3 separate regions of the Homo sapiens genome follow, and all the other regions are linked to region 1. The links are contacts of gene promoters, found by promoter capture Hi-C in human tissues and cell types (Jung and others, 2019). All regions are on one chromosome and are shown on one strand. Each heading gives the region's core, a stretch centred on a gene start or on the middle of the fragment in contact. The rest is flanking DNA. Distances are from core to core; before and after follow the strand shown. Region 1 holds the start of SALL3 (spalt like transcription factor 3). Region 2 overlaps LOC105372224 (a long non-coding RNA gene). Region 3 has its middle 120 kb from the start of LINC01896.

Evidence for each region. Contacts are between HindIII fragments. The study calls those that stand out against the background at their distance.
Region 2: a fragment that was not itself captured here is called in contact with the fragment with the promoter of SALL3 in region 1 in 4 of the 25 tissues and cell types used here (H1 embryonic stem cells, hippocampus, pancreas and 1 more).
Region 3: a fragment that was not itself captured here is called in contact with the fragment with the promoter of SALL3 in region 1 in 4 of the 25 tissues and cell types used here (H1 embryonic stem cells, heart left ventricle, pancreas and 1 more).

The regions. Positions count from the first base shown.
Region 1 is chr18:78,977,209-78,981,258 of GRCh38, reverse strand. It overlaps SALL3 (spalt like transcription factor 3), which reads right to left and starts at 1,441. Exons shown (of 3, transcript NM_171999.4): 1 at 903-1,441. The coding sequence starts at 984. LINC01896 (long intergenic non-protein coding RNA 1896) reads left to right here and starts at 1,568. Exons shown (of 5, transcript NR_187297.1): 1 at 1,568-2,219; 2 at 2,521-2,796; 3 at 3,327-3,451; 4 at 3,569-3,704; 5 at 3,830-4,050. RefSeq lists enhancers at 1-24, 3,879-4,050. The HindIII fragment of the contact is 21,440 bases long and covers 1-4,050 here.
Region 2 is chr18:78,906,898-78,910,766 of GRCh38, reverse strand. It overlaps LOC105372224 (a long non-coding RNA gene), which reads left to right. Exons shown (of 4, transcript XR_935678.3): 4 at 2,017-2,155. Among named protein-coding and RNA genes, the nearest start is that of LINC01896, 71 kb to the left of the region's middle. RefSeq lists an enhancer at 1-952. The HindIII fragment of the contact is 3,023 bases long and covers 775-3,797 here.
Region 3 is chr18:78,855,809-78,859,718 of GRCh38, reverse strand. No RefSeq gene overlaps it. Among named protein-coding and RNA genes, the nearest start is that of LINC01896, 120 kb to the left of the region's middle. The HindIII fragment of the contact is 3,713 bases long and covers 212-3,910 here.

The DNA of each region.
Region 1 (4,050 bases), core at 192-2,691:
CCGAGGTTTTGACTCGACGAAGGGGGTGGGGGCGCCCCAAACTTTGCGGGGCTAAGGCGCCACTCTGGGAAGTCCAGCCCTTTGCCAGTCTCTTAACTTTCGCGGCGCCTGCCCTTTGCTCTTGGATGTTTCGAAGAGGACGCTCCTACCAGCGAAATGACTGCAAAGCCGAGGTCTCCAGCGCCCGGCCTCGGCGGATCCAAAAAGACGGGAGAGAAAAGGCCCGCGCAGACGCTGCAACGAACGCCCCGGAAACACGCCGCGAGCAGGGGCCAGGCCCAGGCCGCCGCCGCTGCGCTCACCCCCAGCTTAATTCCCCGGGCGGCCATTAGGCAGAGCCAAGCCCCCGACCTTCTCCTCGCCTCGCGAGGGATCACAGGCTGCGTCAACGCGCTGGGACACCGCGGGTCACCCGAGGCGGTGCGGGGGCCCGGGAGGGGCCGCGGGCCCCCGAACAAAGCTGGCCGGGCGGCGGGGTCCCCAACCCGCGTCCAGCGGTAGGTGGGCTGCGGTCGCCTTCCCCGCCGCCGCCGGCCTCAGCGTCCTGGCGCAGAGACCCTGGGGGGCGGCGCGGCGGCGGAGGCACCGTGGACTCCCTCCCGCCCCGGCCTCCGAGCCGTCCTCGAGCCGGCCGCGGCCTCGGCGCCCTTCGCGGGCAGCTCCCCGACTCCGAGGAGAGGAGCCAAGTTTACTTCGCCCACAACTCTCTCGGCGGCCGCGCGCGCTCCGGCGAAGTACCCGGGGCCCCGCGGCCGGCCTGGCGCGGGGCGGACGCTTGCCCGCAGGAAGCAGGGAACTTTCTCCCGCTCCCGGACGCGCGCATCCGCTCCCGCCGCACGCGCTTCCCCAGCCCGGACGGGCAGCCCCAGACCCCCCGGCCACCCCGCAGCCCCGGCCCTCACCGTGCTCGGGAGCCCCGTCAGGCGGCAGCAGCTCCTCGTCCGACTTGAGGTGCTGGGGCTTGGCCTGCTTGCGCCGAGACATGCTGCTAGCGGCGCTCGGGCCCCGCGCGGGGCAGCGGCATCAGCGGGGCGGCCGGCGGGGACGGCGCGGGGCGGCCTGGCGGGCGCGCGGCGCGGGGCGCGGGGCGGCGGCGGCTGCGCGGGCCGCGCATGGGGCTGAGCAATTAGGCTGGTGAATAATGCATGGCCATTAGCGGAGGGCCGCGCCGATTGGCCGGGCTCCAGCGGACTCCGGCGGCCTATGCAAATGAGGCCGCGCTCGCAATTAGCGGCCGCGCCGACGAGGAGGGGGCCGCGGCGCCTCGGGACCGGGGCGCGCGCTGCCCGGCGCCGCCTCACATCGCGGGCTCCGGCGCCGCGCTCCTCGGCCGCCCCGGGTGCGGCTGTGGCGGGGCCCGGGTGCGGCGCGGGCCGCGGTGGCCGTCCCTCCGCAGGGCGCAGGCAGCAAACTTTGGCGGCGTCCGCGCGGCGCCGTCTCCGCCGGCGCGCCGGGCTCGCCCCTTTATAGAGTGTCTGCGCCGCCGCCCGCGCCCCCCCCGCCGCCGCCGCCGGGCGGCCCCTCCCGGAGCGAGCGGCCGCGGGCAGGGCTCCGACCCGGCGCCTTTGTCTCGCCCGGGCCGCTCGGGCGCCGCGCCTCCTGTTCCGGGCGCGCGGGGTCGGCCGGCCGCCTTCGCTGCTCCGCCGCGGCTCTCAGCGCCGCTCAGCGCGGCGGGCCCGCCCGGGCTCAGGTGCCCCCCGCTCTCCGGACCTTCTCGCCCGGCCCCGCGTCCCCTCCGCGGGCTTCCCCCGGCGGCCGGCCGGGCTCGGAGGCTCGCGGCCGGAGCGGAGCGGAGTGCGCACGCCGGGGTGGCAGGACTTCGGCAAGACCAACTTTCCGGTTCGGAAGCGGCGCGGGCCGCGCGGCTCCTCCCCTCCTCTCCCTCCCCTGCGTTCCCCCTCCCTTCCACTCCCCCCTCTCCCCGCCCCCCAACCCGCGGGCCCCACCGACTCCGGAGCGCCCGCCCCGCCCGCTGCTGCCACCGGGCCGCCTCGCCCCCGCGCCAGCCCGCCTGGGCCTCTGCGCCGCCGGCGGCTTCTTAAATACAGGAAAGGGAGGGGACCGCAGGGCCCCGGTGTTCCCCACCCTAGTCCCCCTTCACCACGGGCCACCGGGCGCCAGCGGAGTGGGCAGCGAGCGCGACCGAAAGTTCCAACTCCACCAAACTCCCGCGCGCGGCCCACCCTTTCCCGGGATTTCGGGGATGACACGGGGGCCAGGTGAGGGGGCTGCGCACTTCTGGATCGGCCCCACACACTCGGCCCCTGGCGCGGCGCGCTCCCCGCACACGCGCCCGCCCCCTCCCCGCGGTCACACGCACGCGCCCTCGCCCTCGCCCCGCGCGCACAGGCGCGTACTCCCACCCGCGGCCGTGCACCCGCCGCGCTCCTTCCCGCGCGTGTCCTCTCTCCCCGAGCGGCCGCCAGGATGTGCCCCCGGCCCCGTCGTCGCCGCGCCCGCGCCCCTCGCCCCAGTACGTCTTTTTTCGTTTCCTAAATTTCTTATTTTTGTCCTTGCAAGTGGTCCTGTCTGGTGTGAACCGTCAGCACAGATGGCCTCCTGGAGCTTCCCCGAGTCGTTCGCTGGGGGAAGCGGGCGGTGAGCGGCCAGCCCGGGCGCTCCGCAGGCCGCGAGCTCCCGGCAGGGCTGGTGGCGGGGGTCCGCCTGGGGGAGGAATCCCCGCCTGCTCCATCGGACCCGGCCTGGCGCGGCTCGCGGCGCTCGGCGGGCTCCCTTCCATTCTAGAATCTTCCCGCTTGCTTCCCAGCCCGCGTTCTTCCGCCTGCCTTTAATTGTGTAAGTTTGACGAAGTCAGAGCTTTGGGTTCCAGGAAAAGCGCAGGAGGGTCATAGAGGAAGGGAGGGCGCAGGTTGGAGTCAGGTCCAAACAGTCCCTATCGCCACTTTTGAAAAAAAAAAAAAACAACAAAAACCCTTAAGGTTGGTTTTATTTTGCCTTTTGGTAGCGGGCGTATTCATTTAGATTTTTTTTTCAAGACAGGCAAATAAAAGGTGTTTGAAATCTCTAGTTATCCCGTTTAACACACCCATCGATGGCGCTTTTCTAGTTAAGCTACGGGGGAAACGTCTTTATCCCGCAGTTAGGCTGCGAACTTGTGCAGATGCTCAGGCTTTGTGGAGACGCTCCGGCATCTGGCGCAGAGGCGCCCGGCGGGGAAAAGTTTGCAGCCCGGGCTTTGGGGCGCGCGGGGGGCAGGAATTTTTCTGAGAAGAGAGGGGCATAGAGAGGCGGCGCGGGTGGGGAGAGAAAAAAGGAACGCAGGGGGGAGGGGGAAAAGCAGCTTGCAGGATGGGAGTTTCTTGCAGAATTTACAGGATTAAGGAGTTTGGGGAAGTCGCAGAGCTGCAGCGGAAAGGCAGGGGTCTGAGACTACTTTTGAGAAGAGAAACAACGCAAAACGATCGCTGGAGGGCCAGAGCCCTGGTCGAAGGTGCCCTAGCTTTTATGACCTGGTTAATTGTGTCTCCTTTTTATTTTTATTTTTTTCCTTACCACTACTACTACTACTACTTTTATTTTTTTTTAACCGATACACTTTGGAGAGAAGAAGCAGACACAGGTTCCCACGGCGTCTGACGCCTGCGGAGCAAGTCCAGAGCCAGCTGGACTCGCAGCCTCTGGCCCGGCGGCACCAACTCCTCACTGGGTCATTTTGAGCGCGCTGTGCCCACCTTTTCTGTTGCGTAAGGCCCGCTCCCCCTGTCCCGCAACCCTCTCTCCAACAAACCGGCACGATGTCTTTAGGTCTTTCTGGGGCTTCCAAATGCAACTGTTTAATTTCATCGATCTGTTTTGCATTTCCTACAAGGTGTGGACGTGGGGAGGATCTTCTAAGTCCCTCCAACGAAGGCAAGTGTGAGACTCTGGCCCTTTATTTGTAAGAAGCAAGCCTTCAGATTGCAGAAGTGTCGCGCGGGTCGCCGTGCGTTGCGCGAGTGGGAAGATGGAGGAGGCCGGCACGCTGCTTTCGTGGACGCAAGTGAACCGGGCGTGAAGGCAGGGTGCGAGCTCTGCCCTTGGCCCAGCCCT
Region 2 (3,869 bases), core at 1,037-3,536, 71 kb after region 1:
AGTTCAGGAACCTGGGCCATTTGGAGAAATCCCATCTCTACAAAAAATACAAAAATTACCTGGCCCTGGTGGCATGGGCCTGTAATCCCAGCTACTCAGGAGGTTGAGGTGGGAGGATTGCTTGACTCAGGAGGTTAAGGCTGCAGTGAGCCGAGATTGTGTCACTGCACTCTAGCCTGGGTGACGGAGTAAGACTCTGACTCAAGAAAAAGTTTTACTTGGCTCATTGTATACAGGCTTATATTATGACATGTTCCAATGACACATTCGAGGTTGTAGGTCAGAGCACAAGACATTGAAAGAATAAATGGAAATATCAGTACAATGGGAAGCAGAGGCGGGAAAGATGAGATGGAAAAGACTTACTCACTGAGGGACCCATGCAGGCCCACAGGCGCTCTGAAGACCTGTGGCAGGCGTGACCATGCACTTCCTGGCAGTCAACGAAAATGACGTACAGCTTCTTTCAAGATTTACAGCTGTCTTGTGAATTACCAGTATGACCAGATAATTATTGAATTGTCTTTATTATTTATACTATTGAATAATGTTGGATCCATACTTCTAACATTGATATAAATAACATCACATTGTCCACTCGACTAATAACATATCAATTGCCCAGTGACAGTGCGTTGATGCTGGAGGAGAAAGTGTCTCATTCCTCACAGGGAGAACGTTGTATGTTTCTTGTTCAGTGTGTGCTTTTGGTCCAATCTAAGGTAGCTAGGCAACAAAACCTTGCTTTGTAGAGCTTATTTCTCGTCGGCACCCCACCTTACAGCCCAAGGGCATTGCCTCGCCCCGTTCAGGATGGGACCGCTTGTTGTTCGGAGTGTGAAGGTCCCATGATTCCTCCCTTCTCTGTTCTCAGGTGTGTAAAATTGGCTTTGTTTGGCATTTTCTCAAAATGGAGGTGAAAAAAAATGATGAGACTTTGCTTAGATCACAAGTGCCGTTAATATTATCCGCCTGTTTCTTGTTGGATGTGTGTTGTTCAGGAAGGCAGACTACCTAAGAATATAAATCTTATTTCTCTCGTTAAGAATCTGTGATTTGGAAGAATCAAACAATATATTCTATTTTTAGCTTTTCAGCCCAAATGTAATCATGAAATCAAGGTGTCCACTGCATGAAAAGTGAATAAGAAATGGCACACTTTTTTAGGATCTTTACAGCACTCTACATTTCTTTTTGCTGAAGAATTTCCTAAATTCATTTAAGATATGTTTTTAAGAGTTTTAATATTTAAATATGAAGAATAGAAAATCTTTTGTCTGAAGGTGCAGCCTCTTAAATACTGCTCTTTGCTGACATTCAGTCGGAAGCAGGGAGCTGTCATTAGGAACCATACAGTTTTAGGAAATCTTGCACTTTTAAGAAAATCATTTTCTCAGGCTGTATGTGTTATGTTGGAATTATAAGTATGTCTAAATTAAGACATAAATCTCCAACACAGGAGCCATCTTTTCATTATATCTCATAGAAGATTGTGCACATTGCTGATACTCAATTAACTAATAATAATAATGCTAATAATAATGTAGCAATAGTCAACTTCCATTTGGTCACACATCCTGCATATACAGTAATTGTGAAAGCATATCATCTCTGAGAGTATGTGTTGTGCTCGGATAAAATGTGTCATCATCACGAAATTAGAGTTAATGGCAGGAAGGGGACCTCTTTGATCAGTCCCTCCAAGGCCCTCTGCACACCTCTTAAGTGTACCTCATTATGAATTCATTTTAAGCTTCATTGAGTCCCAGAAATTAATTTGACATAAATTTCATCATAAGGCTCTGGAAACTTTAATTTCAAAGGTAATGGTAAAGTAGGATTTTCTCCCCGTGTTCGATACAGATACTTTAGACAGATGTTAAAGTGCAGGTTGAGTATACCAGCCGTAAACATTTTTTTCCAAAATGACTCTGATTTAGTAAACACTTTATTTTGCATTTATCTCTCACCTATACTTCTAAAGCATTTTCTGACATCTGGTCTCCTTGATCTCAGCGGGATCGTGATGTGAAATGGTGCCTGGTCTGCTGGGGACAGCACAGGAACGAAAACGTGGAAACGTGGAAACGCGGGTCTCCGGCCGTCCAGCTTTCGCGGGCCCCGTGTTCTTCCCTTCAGTGAAAATACGCTTATACATGCGGCTCCTTCCCTCTCCAGGTCGCACTCACACTCCTTTTAACTTGAAAGCTTCTGTTTTCATCCCGGGATATTCCGGGATCTTATGCAACCCCTTTTTCTTTCTGTTTGCTGTTTGGATTCTTAGTGATGCCTCCTTTTTCCCCATCCATATTTTTTATCTTCATTCTTTTTTTTTTTTGAGACAGGGTCTCACTCTGTCACCCAGGCTGGAGTGCAGTGGCATGAACATGGCTCACTGTAGCCTCAACCAGGCAGGCTCAAGTGAGCCTCCCGCCTCAGCCTGCTGAGTAGCTGGGACCACAGGTGTGCACCACCATGCCTGTCAAATTCCCTCATTCTTCACACTTTTCTATTTGAGACAGCCTCGCTCTGTCACCCAGGCTGGAGTGCAGTGGTATATCTCAGCTCACTGCAACCTCCACCTCTGGGTTCAAGAGATTCTTCTGCCTCAGCCTCCTGAGTAGCTGGGAATACAGGTGTGTGCACCGCCATGCCCAGCTAATTTTTGTAGTTTTGGTAGAGATGGGGCTTCGCCATGCTGGCCAGGCTGGTCTTGAACTCCTGACCTCAGGTGATCCCCCGTCTCAGCCTCCCAAAGTGCTGGGATTACAGGCGTGAGCCACCGCACCCAGCCTCCCCCCGCTTTTTTTTTTGAGACAGGGTCTCATTTTGTCTCCCAGGCTGGAATGCAGTGGCATGATCTTGGCTCACTGCAACCTCTGACTCCCAGGTTCAAGCAATTCTCCTGCCTCAGCCTCCCCAGTAGCTGAGATTACAGGTGCATGCCACCACACCCGGCTAATTTTTTGTATTTTTAGTAGAGACGGGGAGCTGAGATTACAGGTGCGTGCCACCACACCTGGCTAATTTTTTGTATTTTTAGTAGAGACGGGGTTTCACCATGTTGACCAGCCTGGTCTCGAACTCCTGACCTCGAGTGATCCACCTGCCTTGGCTTCCCAAAGTGCTGGTATTACAGGCGTGAGCCACCGCGCCCAGCATTTTTTTTTTTTTTTCACCTCTTTCTGATATCTTCTGGAAGGTACTTTGACCCAACTCTTCCTCACTATTCCTCCTTCTATTCTTTTAGAATTCTTGGATGTGTCTACAGTATGTGGAACAGGTGGGCAGGAGTTTCCGAGAGAAAAGCTCTGTTCAGTGTGGAGCTTTCAGCAAGGGATTCCTGCGGGAGAAGTGCAGGTGGCACCTGGAGAGACAGAGCTTCTTCTGGGGCTTGGAGGGTCTTGAATGTGAGCCAACAGATTTTAGAATTTTTTACTTGCAAAACTTTAAAAACACACAGATATGCATAAAGAAAAAACATGACGATAATAAAAAAAAATTCTACAATTGGAGGTAACTGTTACCCAACTTTTTTTTTTTCCTTTTTAGACAGGGTCTTGCTCTGTCACCCAGGCTAGAGTGCAGTGACACAATCATAGCTCATTGTAAGCTCGAACTCCTGGGCTCAAGCCATCCTCCTGCCTCAGCCTCCCCTGTAGCTGGGACCACAGGCACGTACCACCACACTCAGCTAATTCAAAAAAAAAAAAAAAAACTGTAGAGACATGGTGTCACTATGTTGCCCCGGCTCATCTCAAACACCTGAACTCAAACAATCCTCCTGTGTCAGCCTCCCAAAGTGCTGGGATTACAGGTGTGAGCCCCCTTGCCCGGCCAACTGCTAACATGACGTATTTAACATAACT
Region 3 (3,910 bases), core at 819-3,318, 120 kb after region 1:
CATGTCTTAGTGTTGATTGGAAATCGCTTGTGCCCACGTGGAATATTTTAGTGAATGTTTGGAATATGAGCTCTGACTGCCAAGGTTAATAAGGGCCAATGCCCCAGCAAACACCACTGAAAGTCCACAGAAACCCTGTGGTTATGAGACAGCCTCACGCAAGACCTTGCCCCTCCCCAGTTTCTACTACATCTGCATCATAATCCTGTTTGTGATTAAAACTCAATCCCGTATATTTACCATTATAAAAAATTCACAAGAGAAGTGGTCTCATTCTATGGAACAGATGCTATGCACGAAATTAAATTTTTTTCAAAGAACAGAACCAGCCAGTCCTTGTCCACAGCTATTTCCCCACCCTCATCTGCAGGACGGGCCTTCCCATGGGTGTGGGTGTGGTCTCCGTGTCCACCTGCAGCCAGCCCGAGTCACAGGCAGGAGGAATGCAGCCGCGCCACCCAGCAGGTGTTTGTGAGGAGTCCAGGCAAATCTCGCCATCAGTGGCGAGATTTCCTTGCATCAGGAAATGCAGTCTTTGGTAATGGGGAAATCTGGGGCCTCCCAAGGTTTTTGTAAAGATGAGAAGGTGACACTTCCCAGATGTGCCTTGGAGAATGGCTTGGAGCCTGGTTTACGAGTTGACTTGTTGTCAGACCTTGCCATGGAGCTCTCTCTGGCTTCTTTGCCTCATGAAGTTGATGCCCAAACTCATCCCCCGACCAGGTTCCTTTGGGAAGTGACTGGATTGACCCTCCCTCCCTCCCTCCCTCCCACTGCTGGTACCAATGGCATGTCTATGTCTAACCTCTGAACACAAGCTTTACATGACCTGGAAGGCAAACTGTCCTAGGAAATCGTTTTGCAAATGCCAAGTGATACGTTTCTTATATTGTCCAATATTTTGCGTGGAACATGTCCGCTTCTGTAACCTTCCATGAAAGTGCTGACCCTGTAACGGTTGTGTCTGGTCATTCACTGGAAAACTGTGAAATAAAAACAAGGTGCCCATTCAGGAGGGCACGGCACCCTCCAGACAGTCACGGCACCCTCCAGACAGTCATGGCACACTCCAGACAGTCACGGCACACTCCAGACAGTCATGGCACACTCCAGACAGTCATGGCACGCTCCAGACAGTCCAGAGACTCCAGACAGTCCAGGGAGAAGCTTTCTGCCTCTGGACAGGTACCTCCGAGGGTTCCCTTATGAGTGCAGCCAAGGACTCACTCCCCAAGGATCACACCTGGGTCACAGAGAAAAAAGTTTTTTGCTTTCTCTTTCTGAAGCCAAACGATCACAGATTCTCAACTTAATTTGGCAATAAGACTGTAGCTCATAACTGGGGTTCAACGTGGGGTGGCCTTTGTTACTCAGAGTTCTTCAAAGAGACTCTCCTGGCACCGGGAGGTTGTTCGAGGCCATGCATTCTGGTTCTTACTAATCTGCTGAACTGGAATGAGTAGTTCTGAATCCCTTTACAATCTGACACTTCACCCGGGAAATCACACAGCCTCTTTTTAGAGGCTTTAATTCCTACCCACTGGAATCCACGGGCAACGGTGAGTTGAGAATGGTGTTTCTTTTATTTTAACTCCAAAAATAATCTGCCCTGGTAGCAAATGGGATGCTTTCGCCACTCCTCACGTAAGGTCGAAAGTTAGCAGCTGCTTTTGACTGTTGTGTGAGGCCGAGGGACCGCCGAGGACACGCCCCGAGGAGCCTGGGTCCCGCTCTTGAGTGCAGTGGGCTCTGGAGAGGAGGAGGAGGTGTGGATAGGAGAGCAACTCACCTTCGTCTCTCTGTCAGTGATGAAAACACATGAAGCTTGCCCTTTTGTAATGTCAACAGAAAATTATGCCTCCAACACAAACCCAGGCCATTAAGGAGGCGGCTTTTATTCCTGCTCATAACGTGGGGAACAGAAGGCGGGGCACCATGCGCCTCCCCAGCTGTTGCCGGGGAAGCCGGCGCGGAGCCGGCCGCATCTGGATGGCGTCTTTGAAGAGGCATTAATCTGTGGCTGAGGGACGCTAAGCCTCTCTGCTTTTCTTTGCTGCTTCTCAGGCTAATGCTGCTTCTGCAAAGCTGTAGCGACTTCATGTCCACGGGGGAGATGAAGGAACAATTACAGACGGTGATACCAAGATGCATTTGGGCAAAAATAAAGGGCAGGACAGAAGCGCTGTGCCTTGATCAGTCCGGCAGAAGATTCGCTTTTCCCCGCCTGAAAGGTGCCGCCCAGCTGGCAGCGCAATGGCAGGAGCCCGGGCTACGCGAGCGCGGGGTGGATGTTGGAGGGGAAGGCCGGGAGCTGGCTCCGTGGAAAAGGCTCCTGCGTGTCTCGGAACATGTTGCTGGGTCGGTGGATTTCGCTGCTCATTTTTGTGGATGAAACATGCATGTTACATTACATAAGGGATCAGGTGGAAGAATGAACAGGTTGGCTTAAGCACACGTCCTGGCTGGTGCTCGGAGAGTGGGCATTTCTTTCTGCCACACTGAGGAGCTGCCTCCTCAGACGGACGTGACATGACTTTCTCGGCTTCTCACTGTCACAGCGCGAGAGGCGGGGGCCTGAGACCCGACGCTGCCCAGGTCACAGCAGCGGGCGGCGTGCCGGCAGGTGCGCGCCTGTTAGACCCGGCGTGAGTGTAGTTTAACAACGAATCTGCAGGCTGCCTGCCGTCATGCACGTGGCCATCGCTTCAGCTTTGCTCCTTTCCAGGTTTCGGGATGCTCGGGGTGAATGGGGAGGCGGCCGCCCCAAGGGAGGACCCAGGCAGCGTCGGCCTCCCGCTTGGGGTCCCTTCCCAGACCCTCGCCTGAACGAGTGGGACAGCTCCTGCCCCCCAGCGCGTCCCCAGGCTCCGGGATGGTCACTGTCCAGGAGGCGCTTGGCCCTGCTCACCCGCCCGTTCTGCCCATCCCTTGAGAACTCCGCGATTTCGAAACTTTCCTGATCTTTCTGCCGGAAGTAATTTGTTCTACGTGAAACCACGGGCCACTCCTTCATATCTGTAGAGCGCTCTACCTTCTGTAACGTTTATCTGCGAAACTGCTGCGTTAGGCCAGGAGCACTCCAAGAGCGAGAGGCAGACGCCGTCTGACTTTTCACCCTGACAGGGGACTTTTCCACCTGGCAGTGCCAATATCCGGCTCCTACGCATTCTCCATGGAGGATCACCAGGTCAGCCCATGGGAGGGAGGCAGGAAGGGTGACCTTGCCCGTGAGGCTTAGTGGAAAGAATGATGAAGGGCTGCAGGTGGCTCCTTGAGGGTCCCCGAAAACTTCCTCTGGGGTAGGGTAGGAAGGTGGTCAGGGAAGCCTGAAAGGCAGTTTCAGCTTCAGTTCTTCAGCTCCTTGTGGGAACAACCCCAGCAGAAATAAACACTGTGCTTTGGGTTAAAAGATAAAATCATGAGGACTTGACCAAAAACAGGATTTCACGGGCTTTCGTCCCCCTGTTGCAATGACACTGATGCTCTCTGGAAGGGACCCTTAGTGTCAGGACTTCCTCCAGTGGGTGATTGTGGGGAGTAAGCCCAATAACCAGTTAGCACTTCCTCCAGTGGGTGACGATGGGGAGTAAGCCCAATAACTAGTGAGCACTTCCTCCAGTGGGTGACGATGGGGAGTAAGCCCAATAACTAGTGAGCACTTCCTCCAGTGAGCAGTGAGCACTTCCTCCAGTGGGTGACGATGGGGAGTAAGCCCAATAACTAGTGAGCACTTCCTCCAGTGGGTGACGATGGGGAGTAAGCCCAATAACTAGTGAGCACTTCCTCCAGTGGGTGACGATGGGGAGTAAGCCCAATAACTAGTGAGCACTTCCTCCAGTGAGCAGTGAGCACTTCCTCCAGTGGGTGACGATGGGGAGTAAGACCAATAACCAGTGAGCACTTCCTCCAG